3 separate regions of the Homo sapiens genome follow, and regions 1 and 2 are each linked to region 3. The links are contacts of gene promoters, found by promoter capture Hi-C in blood cells and fetal thymus (Javierre and others, 2016). All regions are on one chromosome and are shown on one strand. The core of a region is centred on a gene start or on the middle of the fragment in contact, and the rest is flanking DNA. Distances in the headings are between cores, read along the strand shown. Region 1 holds the start of ZFX-AS1 (ZFX antisense RNA 1). Region 2 overlaps KLHL15 (kelch like family member 15). Region 3 holds the start of POLA1 (DNA polymerase alpha 1, catalytic subunit).

Evidence for each region. Contacts are between HindIII fragments. The CHiCAGO score rates a contact against its expected background, and 5 or more counts as called.
Region 1: the fragment with the promoter of ZFX-AS1 here is called in contact with the fragment with the promoter of POLA1 in region 3 in 4 of 17 cell types (fetal thymus, monocytes, non-activated CD4 T cells and 1 more); the score reaches 12.3 in fetal thymus.
Region 2: a contact is called between a fragment that was not itself captured here and the fragment with the promoter of POLA1 in region 3, in 1 of 17 cell types (fetal thymus). The highest score is 5.1, in fetal thymus.

Annotation. Positions count from the first base shown.
Region 1 is chrX:24,146,221-24,150,992 of GRCh38, reverse strand. ZFX-AS1 (ZFX antisense RNA 1) reads left to right here and starts at 1,339. Exons shown (of 3, transcript NR_046657.1): 1 at 1,339-1,438; 2 at 2,151-2,240; 3 at 4,542-4,768. It overlaps ZFX (zinc finger protein X-linked), which reads right to left and starts at 1,264. Exons shown (of 10, transcript NM_003410.4): 1 at 1,199-1,264. RefSeq lists silencers at 258-767, 818-867, 888-1,297, 1,358-1,717 and enhancers at 808-1,621, 1,828-1,927. The HindIII fragment of the contact is 5,789 bases long and covers 1-4,772 here.
Region 2 is chrX:24,021,170-24,025,587 of GRCh38, reverse strand. It overlaps KLHL15 (kelch like family member 15), which reads left to right. Exons shown (of 4, transcript NM_030624.3): 2 at 530-731. Among named protein-coding and RNA genes, the nearest start is that of KLHL15, 3.8 kb to the left of the region's middle. RefSeq lists an enhancer at 1-38 and silencers at 1-250, 331-400, 411-560, 571-650. The HindIII fragment of the contact is 6,826 bases long and covers 1-4,418 here.
Region 3 is chrX:24,692,480-24,697,132 of GRCh38, reverse strand. It overlaps POLA1 (DNA polymerase alpha 1, catalytic subunit), which reads right to left and starts at 3,215. Exons shown (of 37, transcript NM_001330360.2): 1 at 3,129-3,215. The coding sequence starts at 3,171. RefSeq lists an enhancer at 2,954-3,043 and a silencer at 3,234-3,393. The HindIII fragment of the contact is 2,747 bases long and covers 1,629-4,375 here.

The DNA.
Region 1 (4,772 bases), core at 90-2,589, 540 kb after region 3:
TATTCCTCGATTTAAAAAAATACCACCAACAGATCACTACTTAAATCGTTTTTCAAGAAAGTTGTTTCCACATAAATGAGTACGAATGATTCAAAATTTTATTCCTCCGCTCTCGTGTTGTGCAATTTTTTTCCCTATAGGACAAAAGAATGGCAAAAACTTTCCCATCAATCTTTATTTTTCTTCCTTTATTCAGATACTCGGGGCGGCAAAGATTGTTGGAAAAACAACTGCATCGAAAGCACCTTAGCAGCCACATATGATTTGACTTAAGCAAAAATAACATTTCCTGGGGTCCCGTATGCCCTGGTAAGCCCAGGTGTCCGGAATGCCACCTGCCCCGACTGCCCTCGGGTGGCTACAGGCGCGGGGGAAGGCGCAGGGCCAGGGGCGCTGAGGGTGAAACGGTCCCGGCGTCCGGGCGGCGGCGGTGGCCGCCTGCGGCAGCTCAGCTGAAACGCAGCGGAAACTGCAGCCAGTCACGGGGCTGCGGGAGGCAAGGCAGGAAGGTGGCGCTGCCGCCGAGCGCCTGGAGCCCGAGCGCTCATCATGGCGGCAAGGGCAATGGCCGCCACGGGGAGCGAGCACGCCCCTCCGCGCGCACACGCCGCCGCGCCGGGCCTCCGGGGCCCGTCACCGGCGCCGCTGCCGCCGCCGCCCGCTCTCCCACCCCCCCTCACGGGCTGTAGCGGAATTTTCTCTCCAGACACCGCCTCCAAGATGGCGGCTCCCCCTCCCGGCAACCCCCTCTATCGTCCCCTGCAGCAGGCGCCGAGCCGCCGCCATCTTGTCCCCCGTCCCTCCCCCCCCCTCACCGATATTTACATAGCGAAAATCGGCCCGGCCGGCCTGCGGCCTTCACCTCACGCCTGCAGCCTTCGCCTCCTCGCCAGGCCTCACCCCGGCGCGGTGCCCCAGGTCGGCCGCGGAGCCGACCCGGGGCCCCTCGACCGCCTCCGGCACAACCGGGCGACCCTCCCCCAACCCCCGCCCGCTTACGGAGCGCGCCTCCGCCGCCGCTCGGGGCAGCCGGGCTCCTCCCCGGGCCTAACTGCGGCCTCCTCGGGGCCTGCTCGGCGCCGCGCGCCACGCCGCCCGGCCTAGCGCGGGAGGGCGCCTTGCGGGCCGCCGACCAGGCCGAGACCAGGCCGCTGTGCGCGCACTAGGCCCCGCGGCCGCGGCGGCACCCGGGACTCACCGGACGGACGTGCGGGCGGCCGGCGACGGTGGCGGGTGCTGCAGGCCGGCCTTTCTCTGGAGCACTGGGCCGGGCTCCGGCTGGTGGGGCGGGCGGAGGGAGGGAGGAGGGGCCGAGCTCGGAGCTGACAAAAAGCGGCCCAGCTCCCCGGCACGGGCCCGCCGTCAGCACGTCACGTCACCGCCCGGGAGAGAGACCCAGGAAAATGCGGAAGGGTAGACAGGCCCCCTCCTCCGCCCGGTGGGTCCTCCTGGCACCCCGTGTCGGCGCCGCTCCCGCCCCGCGACCGGGGAGCCCAGTGGCCTCGCTGCGGCGGGGTCTCCGGCGGCCGGAGTCTCCGTGACAGCGCCCCCCTTCTTTCCACCTCCTCCGCGCTCCCGCCCGCCGCCGCCACACACGCGCCGCTGCCGCCGCCGCCTCGGCCGTAAAGCCCGCGCGGGGCCGCGGTCGGCCGACCCCGCGGAGAGGCAGGCGGCCCGGCCGCCCCCCACCATGTCCCGTGGGCCGCGGCCGCCCCCCGGGGGCCTCCCTGGAGACCTACCGCCTCTCGCGCCGGTCCTGGCCGAGGCTCCAGCTCGAGTTGTTTGCAGGCCCTCAGACCCCCGCCCGCAGTAAATGTGTTTTCTTCATCCCCGTGGCTGGGGAGGAAGATAAATTTAGCAACCCCCGCCGTCCCCTGCCTTCGCTTAAAAAAAAAAAATCTTTGAAATAAAATGAAAACGGGCTTGCCAGTCTAAATGGGTGTGCGGGAAGGGGGGTGGAGTGGGGGGAGAAGGGTTATCCCTAGAGCACCTACCAGGCCGTCTACTTTTTAAAAATAAGCAGTCAGAGCCAAACTGATTTTATTAGTTTGTACGGGGGAGGGAGATGAGCAAAGTTGCATTTTGAAACGTTTCGCACGTTGCAAAGAACAGGAATTTTCTGTGTATTTTCCTATGTACCCGTGTTTCAGAGCTTGGGAGCCTGTGAAATGTAAGACTGGTGTCATCGTTTCATAAATCATGAATTTTCCACATTCCTTAATAGAGAGGAGCCCAATTGGGTATGGATTTTTTTTTTTTTAAACACACTGCTTAAACAAGCCTTTTGAAGTTTCAAAAGACTTGGGAGAGAAGGGGAAAATGATTAAACAGCACTTACCAACTTCAAAAATGTGTATTTCGCACTTTACTTAGTTTAAATGTTTATGCTATCTTTCCATGCTGAACTTGGAACCCAAACTCTGTTTTAAAGTTACTAGGGAAAAGTTAAATAGTGGAGTCTTTACATTAATCTGGAATCTGGCATGCTATCCTTTAACACAGCACTAAATGTTAAAGGCATTTTTAAACAATAAGAAACACAAAAATTATAAAGCAAATAGTATACTGGTGTGAAATCTCTTTAAATACAGAGGCCACGTATTTTAGTTGCCTGACATAACTCTTTAAAACTCCCAGAATGCAATTTGTCCCTTCCCTCAGACATCTCTCAATCACAAATGCTTTCAAAAAGGAAAAACAAAAGTAGAGTAAGAAGAAATCTCTGAGCATGCACTGGATGATAATTTTCCTCTCGGGGCTTTAGTCTGAATTTTTCCAAGCGATTAAATTTCCTTTCAAAAATAGTAACAGCATGTATTCATTGTTTATAAAAATTACATCAGGCTGTGATAGACTTTCACAGAAAGACATTTCACAGAAAGGTAAATGAAACTAAGCAATGTTGTTTCAATAAAAAAAAATGAGAAATAGCTTGTGTGCCCACATTAATATTTCTTGCACTCCCAGACTGGAGTGCAATGGCGTGATCTTGGCTCACTGAACCTCTGCCTTCGGGGTTCAAGCGATTCTCCTGCCTCAGCCTCCCGAGTAGCTGGGATTACAGGCACTTGCCACCACGCCTGGCTAATTTTTCTATTTTTTTAGTAGAGATGGGGTTTCACCATGTTGGCCAGGCTGGTCTCCAACTCCTGACCTCAGGTAATCCACCCGCCTCGGCCTCCCAAAGTGCTGGGATTACAGGCGTGAGCCACCGTGCCCGGCCGCCCACATTAATATTTCAAAACATTGATAATCAGCGTTTAAGTACTTTCCAAGGGCCTCAGTGTGATGCTACGGTATGGCAAGAATGGAGGCCAGGTTCCCTGGTTCAGTCCTGTAATCACAGCACTTTGGGAGGCCGAGGCGAGAGGATCACTTGAGCCCAGGAGTTCAAGACTAGCCTGGGTAACATGGTGAGACCTCGTCTCTATTAAAAAAAAAAAAAAAGAAGAAGAATAGAGCCTCACTTCATCCATGCAACTGTAAGCAGCATGTTCAAGACAGAAAAACCTAATGTCACCATTCTTGTTAGTTTTTCCATAATTACCATCAAAAATACTTATACATCCACCAGTGTAAAGCACTTAAGAAAACAGTGTCCAAGGAGCATGAAAGAAAAAGAAGTTTTCTCAGTTTAAAAGATCACAAGTAGTTTAGGGATTGATACTTTCAAAGAGCCCTTTGTCATTACTTTTCATACAGGAAGAGACTGTTAACTTTGGTGGGAAACAAAGAAAGGATGGCCTAGTTCTATTAGATTAGATAAACCTTTATTAAAGTCCAGCAAACTTTATAAAGTCCAGTTATTTTATAGATGACTATACAGATAAGGTCAACTATATTTTTTTTAGTTAAAAAAAGGTAAAGTTGTACTTTAAGCCCATTTATGGAAGTCTGTAAAGAACATTGTTTAACTGGTAAAAGAACAATGGTAAAAATCATTTCACTAGAAGTACACTTAGTATTATACTCATGATAAAGTGAAGATGAAAAGGAAGTGTAAACAGCAGAGATCAGAAATTGTTTGATGTGACAAAATACAAAATGCATTTTATGAAAGTACTCACAATAGGACCTTGAGGACACCTAAGATCCTTGAAAGCATTTGGTAATTAAGCACCAGACATCTTGCACTTAAAGGACCTACTGCAGCCTATCTTGCCTTGATAATTGTTTTCGTATTAGGGACCTTTAGAATTCTGGGCACAGGAAGTAACAAAGATGTGCTTGCCCTTGGGGAACTCGAATAAGGAGGCTGTGTAAGGCAAAATAAAAACATTCCTAAGTACTTTCATTTTCTCACTTAAGTAAACATAATAAAAGGAAATTTTATCTAGGGAGGTCGAGAGCAGAACATTTCAAAAGAGAATGCTATGAATACAAAATAGCTGGTTTCAAAGCAGTAAAAGGAATTTTGATTACGTGCTAAAATGTATTTGTTCCTTCAGAGCTGTTAATGTACATCAGATAGTTAAAAGCATTTACTCAAGGTTTTGACAGTGTTTTAATAAATTAACTAAAAATCTCTGACATGTTTATAGGTCCTTGAGCCAGAAACGATAGAAGGCCTTTCAATCATTTTTCCAGAGAAAGATTAGTCAGAAAAGAAGCTGTTGATTTTCACTCCACATCGGAGACTGATGGGAATTCAAATAAGAAGCAATAAATTATTGGCTTATGAGAAAATGTAGACCTTCTTGAATAAAGTTGTGGTAATTCTTTTTTTTTTTTTGTATCCCAAACATTAAAAAATATTTATCTTCCCCTAGAAA
Region 2 (4,418 bases), core at 942-3,441, 670 kb after region 3:
AGCAGGGGCCGAGGGGGGGGCCTCCCGGGCCAGCTCCCCGCCCCCAACGGCTTCCCACCCTCCGCCCTCTCTCCCAGCGTGGCGGCCTTCCGCGTCAAGACGACAGCGCACTGGGCCCCCTGCCGGCCAGCCCCGCCTCCCTGGGCGGGCCCCGGGCGGCTCCCGCGGCCCGCAGGGGGCGCGCGGCCCGGAGCGGCCCCCGGCTCGTGGCCCCGCACGCCCCGCCCCTTCCCCGCCCCTTTCCCGCCTTCCTCCACCCCCGGCGTGGGTGATCCCGAGGCTCGGCGCGCTTCGGGGCAGAAGCCCAGAGACGCCGTCCTCGACGCTTCCTCGGCTGGTGCTTCTGTCTCTGCCTGCTGCCCCCCAGCCCTTTTCCCCGCCCGCGGCCCCAGTCGGCCCTCCCGCCGAGCCCCGTCGGGTGCTGCGAGGCCCCCGGCGTTGGCAAGGTCGGTCCGGGCCCCGACGCCGCGCCGCCTCGTGCGGAGCCCGACTGTCTGGTTTCTCGACTCAGCGCTGTCTTCTTTCCCAGGACTTATCCAGAGGGGGCTGCAGGCGAGCACTCTCGTGCCCCGCCGGAGCGACCCGGCTCGTGCCGGGAGCGGCTGCTCGTAGACGTCCGAGGAGCCTGCCGAGTGCCGTCCCGGCGCCCGACCGCCCACCCATCGGCCCGCTGGCCCGGTTCTTCCTGATGCAGACTGCCGTCCACTAGAGGCTGGACAGGACCCCCCGAGGTACGTAGCCGCCCCTGGCCGCCGGCCTGCGGAGCCCGGGCTTCGCCCGCGGCCCCGAGCTAGGCACGAATTCGCCGGCCCTCTCTGCACGGACCCGAGTCAAACATTTGGTAGACGCCGGGACCTCGTTTGTCTTCGAGTTTACTTAAATTGTTTGAAATGTAATTTTTTTTTCCAGAGAGAGCGAGAAAGAAAAAGGAAGAAGCATAATTCAGCCATTTTTTGCAGCACACAGCTGCAGGTACCATGATTATTTTTTGCCTAACCCGTTCCTTCCCTTTAACAATTCAATTTATGCCTGAAATAGAACTATGCAAAATGCGAGGCATAAAACTAGGAATCGGAAGGTCTGGGTTCGACTTGGGTGACTCTGAGAAAAAATCGCGTACCGAGCCTTGGTTTCTTATCTATGAAATATAGTCGGTACTACCAACATCGCAGGGTTGAGAGGACTATATGAGGTCATATATGTGAAAATAATCCTTAACTGTAGAGTGTTGTAAGAATGCAAGGCCGTTTTTTAAGTAACCTTTGGTAGAGTGGTTAATGTAGTGGCTAACTGTTGCTGCCTCTTTATTTCTATATTATAAATATAAGCAAATAAGTACGGAATAATAGTAAAGCAGTGCTGTGAATCCATAGATCTGTAATAGTCACGTTGCTTGGCCTTCCTCCTACGAAGTGCTAACTGCTTATTTAAATAACGGTATTCTTTAATTCAAATGTAACGTTACCGTAGGGGCTTTGCTTTTCATCGTTCTAGGCCGCTTTAGGCCCCTTTTCTTACTCCAAATATTTAACACCTTACATTTGTTAGTCTTTTCTGTTTTCCGAATTTGTTTGCCTTTGTTAATCTGATTAAGTGGTAATTTAGAAAATGCTTTGCAGACATATATGCCCTAATTTTAATGCCTGTTTTTCATATCTAGGGAGCAGGATGCTTGAATACTTCTACTAATTTGAAAATTGGTTTTGAAGAGCTTATCAATGCATTCATGTTTCAGTAATCCTTAATAGATCTAGAAATGTATAGAACATTTCAACTTTTTAGCACTTAATGTAATTATATAATTTTATTCTCATTTTTAATCACAACACGTAGTAGGTGCTTAGAGTCACAGTTTATCAGTGGTAGAGGATGTTAACTTGCACTCTTCATTGCTGATTAATTTGGGGAAAGAATAGGATAGTAAATATTTGTGGTTTGAAAATTGAATTTATTTTGCCAGGATTTATATGTGTAACAGATTAGTATTGATCATTTTTACTTGGCATATCAAAAATATAGTATGGTTTGGCTTAAATGGTCCACAAAAAGTGAAAAGAGAAGCATTTTTGGGTATATTGTTATTTTTAGCTAACAAATGGTTTTGAGTAGTTAGATGTTTTATTAAATTTATAATCCTCTAGTCCAATACCAGTTGTCTTTCAGAGTATGCTTTTGTGTTTTGTAAAAAGGCAAAATAATAGAAGTTGGGCAGGATTTACATAGTAAAAGGAAGAGCCTACTTCAAAGTGGCTGGTTTTATAGATTGGATTTATCACTAATCTTGATAAAATTTTGACAAATCATTGCTTTATTGGGGATTTCAAGGTTTGACCTTCTCTCTACCTCGAGTCGGGTTATCTCAGAAACCTAACCTTGATCAGGGCAGGCTTGGCTTCATGGATGTTCAGAAGGGCCCCACACTTGGTTTAATAATCTGCATGTAAAACTGGGATTGTACAGTATAAGGGTGAATGGTAAAATTCATGCTAATTTAAATTTTTAATTTTCCTTTACTCAGAACGACATTAAACATCAAATTTAAAAAACACTGAGAGCCGGGAGCGGTGGCTCAGGCCTGTAATCCCAGCACTTTGGGAGGCCGAGGCGGGCGGATCACCTGAGGGTCGGGAGTTTGAGACCAGCCTAACCAACGTGGAGAAACCCCGTCTCTACTAAAAACACAAAGTTAGCCTGGCGTGGTGGCGGGCGCCTGTAATCCCAGCTACTCTATTCCCAGCTACTCGGGAGGCTGAGGCGGGAGAATCGCTTGAACCCGGTAGGCAGAAGTTGCGGTAATCCAAGATGGCGGCACTGCACTCCAGCCTGGGCGACGAGAGCAAAACTCCGTCTCAAAAAAAAAAAAAACCGCGAAACAGTTGAGAGATACAGAAGAAAGTTTTGAAAGAGCTTTACATTTTATTACCTTTAACGACTTTTTTTTTTTTTTTAAGACAAGAGTCTTGTTCTGTCGCCCAGGCTGGAGTGGAGTGGTGCGATCCGATCCCCGCTCATTGGAACCTCCACCTCCCGGCCTCAAGCGATTCTTGGGCCTCAGCCTACTAAGTAGCTGGGATTATAGGCGCTCGCCACCACGCCCGGCTAATTTTTGTATTTTTAGTAGAGACGGGGTTTCACCATGTTGGCCAGGCTGGTCTCGAACTCCTGGACTCAAGTGATCTACCCGCCTTGGCTTCCCAAAGCGCAGGCGGGAGCCACCGTGCCCAGCCTTTTTTTTTTTTTTTTTTTATCTTTTGAGACACAGTCTTGCTCTGTCTCCCAGGCCGGAGTGCAGTGGCGCGATCTCGGCTCACTGCAACCTCCGCCTCCCGGGTTCAAGTGATTCTCCTGCCTCAGCCTCCCGAGTAACTGGGATTACAGATGCGCGTCAGCATGCTTGACTAATTTTTGTATTTTTAGTAGACACGGGGTTTCACCATGTTAGCCAGGCTGGTCTCGACTGACTTCAAGTGATCCGCCCGCCTCGGTCTCCCAAAGTGCTGGGATTACAGACATGAGCCACCGCGCCCGGCCATCGCCCAGCCTTTTAACAACATTTTTCCCTGATTTTGAACAAGAGTCCCCGCAAATGATGTAGGTGGCCTGTTGTCAAGCCTGGCCTTTCCCAGTGCAAATGTTTTGAGAGTGAATAATGTTAACTGTGAGGAGAATGAATCTTTAGCTTAGAGGAGGTGGATTACTTTATTAGCATCTATTTTCTCTGAATTGGAGTGCTATAGCTCATGTGGTGCTTTTTTTTTTTTATTGAAGAGAAATGAAAGATGGAGCCATGGGTGAGGCATTGTAGAACAGTGTTTAATAGGGGAGGCTATGAAGTCAGGCAGACCCCAACTTCACAACTTACTAATAATTATAGCCTTGGGCAAGTTACTTAACCTCTGTGAGCTTTGATGTTCTCATCTTTAAGTCGGGGATGGATACAAAACATGGAAGGTTGCGAGAATTAAATTTATCTGTCTTTCCAACAAATATTTATTAAGCACTTATTATGTGCCAAGCACTGTTTTAGGTGCTGGAGATGCAACAGTCAGTGAAGCAAAACCGACAAATTGAAGCAGAAAGGAAACTAAGTAAAATGGATAGCCTGTATTGCCATTTAATATACTGCAGAGAATAATAAAGTGGAGGGGCATGGGGATTGTCAGGTTGATGGGGCAGATGGGGTTTTGCAACTTTAAAAGAGGGTGTTTGAGGAAGGCCTCACTGAAATGACACCAAAGACCCTAAGGGAACCATATATATCTGGGGATAGTGTGATCCAGGCAGAGGGAACAGGGTGTAGAGAGGCCTTAAGTTGGGAGTGTAGCTGGTTTTCAAGGAACAGCGGCACCAAGGGAGATAGTAATATAAGATTATTATTATTGCCATTTTAAGAATCATTGGAAAGGCTCTCATAGTTC
Region 3 (4,653 bases), core at 1,966-4,465:
AGTAAAGCAAAGTACCTGAAATTACCATCACAATATAAACATGGTGCCATAGAAAAGGTAAGAACTCAGTACTGAGGAAATGTACAGAGGAGAGAGCTGTTAATTTTGCCTGGAAAATCAAGGAAGGCTTCACAGGAGAGGTTTCCAATACAGGCCTAGAAAAAGGAGTCAAATTTCACAGAGAACAAAGTAAAAAGTGGCACAAGCAAAAGAAGAGGCATGAGCCAAATTACAAAGGGATGAAAATGCATAGTGTATTCAGAAACTGAGAGAACTCAGTGTGCAAGGTAAATTCGACAAGGGAGTGTAGAGTGAGTAGGAGAACCAGGTTAGGGAGAAGCAGCACATTCCAGCTCTGCCATTTACTGGGTGACATGAGAACACCGGTTAACCAGTTAAGCAGCAGACAGGTGTCTTGTTATTTAAAGCAGCCTAGCATCTGAAACTGTTTGTGAAATCCGGCCCCCATCCCTTATAAGTCTTGATGAGACGCAGAGCCTATGCCCCATTACAGAAGCTGAAAAGGTTGATGCTCTTTCCCAGACACCCTTGCAGCCTAGAGCATGGGCATATAAAATAGGCGCTACCGATTAGGAACACCTGCTCAGACATTAAATCAGAAGCTAGTGTCACAAGGAAGGGGGCATGGGTTTTAAAAGATTCTACAAGTAGCAACAGCTGCAGAAGGATTACAAAACCGGCAACAATGTCAGCAATGTCCTAAGGTATGAGCTATAGCATCAAGTACTTGCTCGTGGTTGGCAATGACCTCCTCACTGGCCCATTTTTGTGGCACAATTTCACTCACTGTTCCTGGCTAAACAGCTCCCAGACTGGCTTACTAGTCCTCCTGGAGTTTCTGTGAACACAATATTCTTCTAACAAATTCTAACCAATCTGGTAGAGTTGGTTCCTGCAGCTTACAGATAGGGGCTCTGACTGATGCAGAGCCTCAGGGTCCACATCTGTGAAATGGGGATAATCATGTCTGCTTCAAAATCTGTTAAGGATTACATGAAGATGCCTATCTTACTTTGCACTTAGCAATATAGGAGCGGCTCATGTAACGCTTCCGCGTGTGAAGTCAAACACACATCCACATACCCCACACACACCATACCTAAGAGTACCAAGGTCTAGCTTTAGAAGGCAAAAACAAAGCAAAGCCGTTTTCTGCATATGATTAGATGTTTACCATCTGTACTTCATGAAGACAAACCATGTCCAGCCTACCCACCATCATAATGCCAGAGCCTGGCAGAAGGCTTATACCTAGTAGGTATATAATAAATATTTGCTGAATGAACCAATGAATGAACCACTGTACCTGCTTTTTTGATCATTAAACTTTCCCTGGCCGGGCGCAGTGGCTCATGCCTGTAATCTCATCACTTTGGGAGGAAGAGACAGGTGGATCACCTGACATCAGGAGTTCAAGACCAGCCTGGCCAACATGGTGAAACCCTGTCTCTACTGAAAATACAAAAAATTAGCCGGTGTGGTGGTGGGCACCTGTAATCCCAGCAACTCGGGAGGCTGAGGCAGAACTGCTTGAACCCAGGAGGCAGAGGTTGCAGCCAGCTGAGATCACGTCACTGCACTCCAGTCTGGGCAACAAGAGGGAAGCTTTGTCTCAAAAATAAATAAATAAATAAAAATTCCCTGATCTTTTTTCATATATAGTAACAGCTAGTTACAGACCTTTCAACTTTTCACTGCCATTATCAAGGTGCCCTGCCTGCTAATACTGAAGAAAAAAAAAAGCCTACATTTTGTTTTTTGGAGTATGTCTCCAATGCTTCACGTAGGTAACTTAGCAAAAAAAGAATAAGCATGAAAAAAATCCAGCTACAAAGGTTTAAATATTTGTTTCAAAATTACCATCTGGAGTATCTCTATCCTCCCCAAAAGCAGACAGACACTAGCTTACAGCAGTCTTTCAGGTAACAATCCTTCAGTCTGCTCTAAAGGAAAAATTCCAGTCACAAGTCCCCAGCAACTACTTAATGAACACCATGACCTAAGAGGAGTCTCAAGATTGCACAGTATCCTCCAAAGTGATTTCCTGATGTTCATAGATGACGTAGTTTTTAGGATGAAGAAAGGGCTTAGTGGCAAATCACTGATAGAGGCCTGCAAAGACTGTTCGTTCACATACTTACACCCAACATCCTATCTGTAATCCAGGCAGGTCGACTCTCCAAAATAGTCTTAAAAAACGAACGGCTAGAACAAATTGAAATCTGTGACTCACAACTAGGTGAATGCAAAGGAAGCTGATTAGGAAGCGAGTTCTCATTAATGGTGATGTATCTGAATGACAGGAGAGGTGACGCTTGAGCTAACAAAGTGAAGCATCTGATTTTAAGTTAGAAGTTAACTGAAGTCACGCTTTAGTTGAACACTTAAAAAATCAGACAAATCTATTTGCATTTTTGTATTCTATTTTTGGAAATAAAAGACACCCCTGACAAACGGAGTGATATACAGGGGATCCGAAATGCCCTAAATTGATGCCATTTTTTTGAAACTTCACCAGGAATGACTAGATTGTGAACAGGATTTCTACGCAGCACTTGAAGAACTTTCCAAAGAATCTGAAAGAAAAATTGTTAATGCATAAAGTAGAAACCCATTACCTAAAAATACAAAACGCGTTATTCCCCGATGACAGCACTTAGAGCTTTCTTTCCTGCTTAGTTACAATGTATAAAATTTTCCTGGAAGTTCCTACAAAAAGGGACACAGATCTGTTCTGTTCAAGCCTTCAAGTGGATACTTAGGGAGATCGCAGTGAAATACTTTCGGCCCCACGGGGCCAGTCTCAATAAAGTTATACCCAGCACGTGGGTGCAACTCACCAAAAGAAATAGAAACGCAATCGACTGTGGAGACTCTCAGTGGCAGAGGTGAGACAGCCTCCCAAACAAAAATCCCTCCAGGCTCTGGTCCTCCAAGAGCAAACCGCGCCTAAAGGAAGCCCGGTCCGACGCCAGAAGGGCCCCCGCCGGGGACGACCAAGGTCTGCGCCCAAACAAACCCGGGTGTGCGCCTCCCTCAGAACCCCCACCACCGGCAATCATGCCACTGTCCCAACCCGGAGCCCCGCGCGCGGAATTGTCCCTCACCACTCGCCCCTATCTCACAGTCGTCGCCGTGCACAGGTGCCATGGTCCCGAATCTCCCGATTCCGCGCCAACCAGCCCAAAACTGGCGCGGGGGCCGAGACAGGCGCCAGCCTGAAAGCCAATCAGCGGCTCGGGAGGCTGCGGACTTCCGGCCGGAAGGCCACTGACGTGCCGCGCCGCGCCGCGCTCCGCCCCCGGCCTTCCCGCGGACGCGCGTTTGGCGCCCTGTGATGACCCCTTAGGGAAAAGCTAGAGCTGAGGGGAAGCCGGAGGAGAGCAGGAGAAAGAAGCGGTCGGGCGCTGGAAAGGAGCCGCCTGGAGACTGCGCAAGCGCACGCATGCTGATGGGAAAAGATTTGGGCGCGTGGGAGAAAGGGCGCTCTGGTTCTCAGAGCCCATTTTCCCGGAAAGGAGGCGCGGGCGGGCAGGAGAGTGGGCGTGGTTGGATCGTTTTCCCCAGAGCCGGGAAAGCGACTGCCTCCTGCTGCGCGCCCTGAATTTTGCCTGATAGTTTGCTTCTCAGCAGTCTGGATACAGTGGCTGTGTGATTAACAACTTAAAGATATATGCTCCGTCTTAACCAAATAACCAGAAGTAGCATTACCAATAAATGGCCATCTGATCTCATATGCCTCCTGATGTAATGCGTATGAAAAAGGAAAAACTTCGCCTATATGGTCTTCTTGCAAAAAATGTCTAACCTGAATCTAACCATGAAGAAACAATCAGATGTATTCAAAATGTAGGACAATCTACAAAACACCTGACGTGAACTCCAAAATTTCAATGTTATGAAAAACAAAAAGGGTATTCAATTTTTGTGTATGATACAATGGCTGTAATGTGTACATCTCATGTTATCTCTTTCCAAAAAGGTATAACATTTTTATTAAATAATGCCTGCCACACATTTGTATTTTTTCCTACATTATTGCCCACATGCTTATTGATCCCTTCTTCATGTGACAACAATTTTGTAATATTTTCTCCAAAGAGGATATAAAGATAATTCAATCTGTCTTCTAGCATGGTTGATCAATACTTGTTTCTTAATTTCTGATTGTTTAGAAAATGTCTTTCAGCTTCATAATCATTTAATATCATGTTATGTGATCCATATGTTGTGATACATAACATGTAGTAATTTACACTTAGACATAACTTCCTATTTAAAGTACTACGACAGATTTATTCCTACACTTCCCTTTTAAAAACTGATGGAAGTTTTATAGTTTTATTATCAAGCTTTTTCCAACCAGGAGAGAACCATGTTGGCTAGTCATTAATAAGAACCAAATCCTTACCTTAACAATTTCACAGCTGATTACTTCCCACATGCCCGGGTATAACTCTAGGCATTTCAAACCTCTTTTCTCTTTCACTACTGCTGTGGTCTGAATGTTTCTCTCCACATAAAATGTATGCGTTGAAACCTAATCACCAGTGTGGTGGTGTTAGGAGGTAGGGCCTCTGGGAGGTGATTAGGTCATCAGCAGGAACCCTCCCTCATGAATAGGATTAGTGC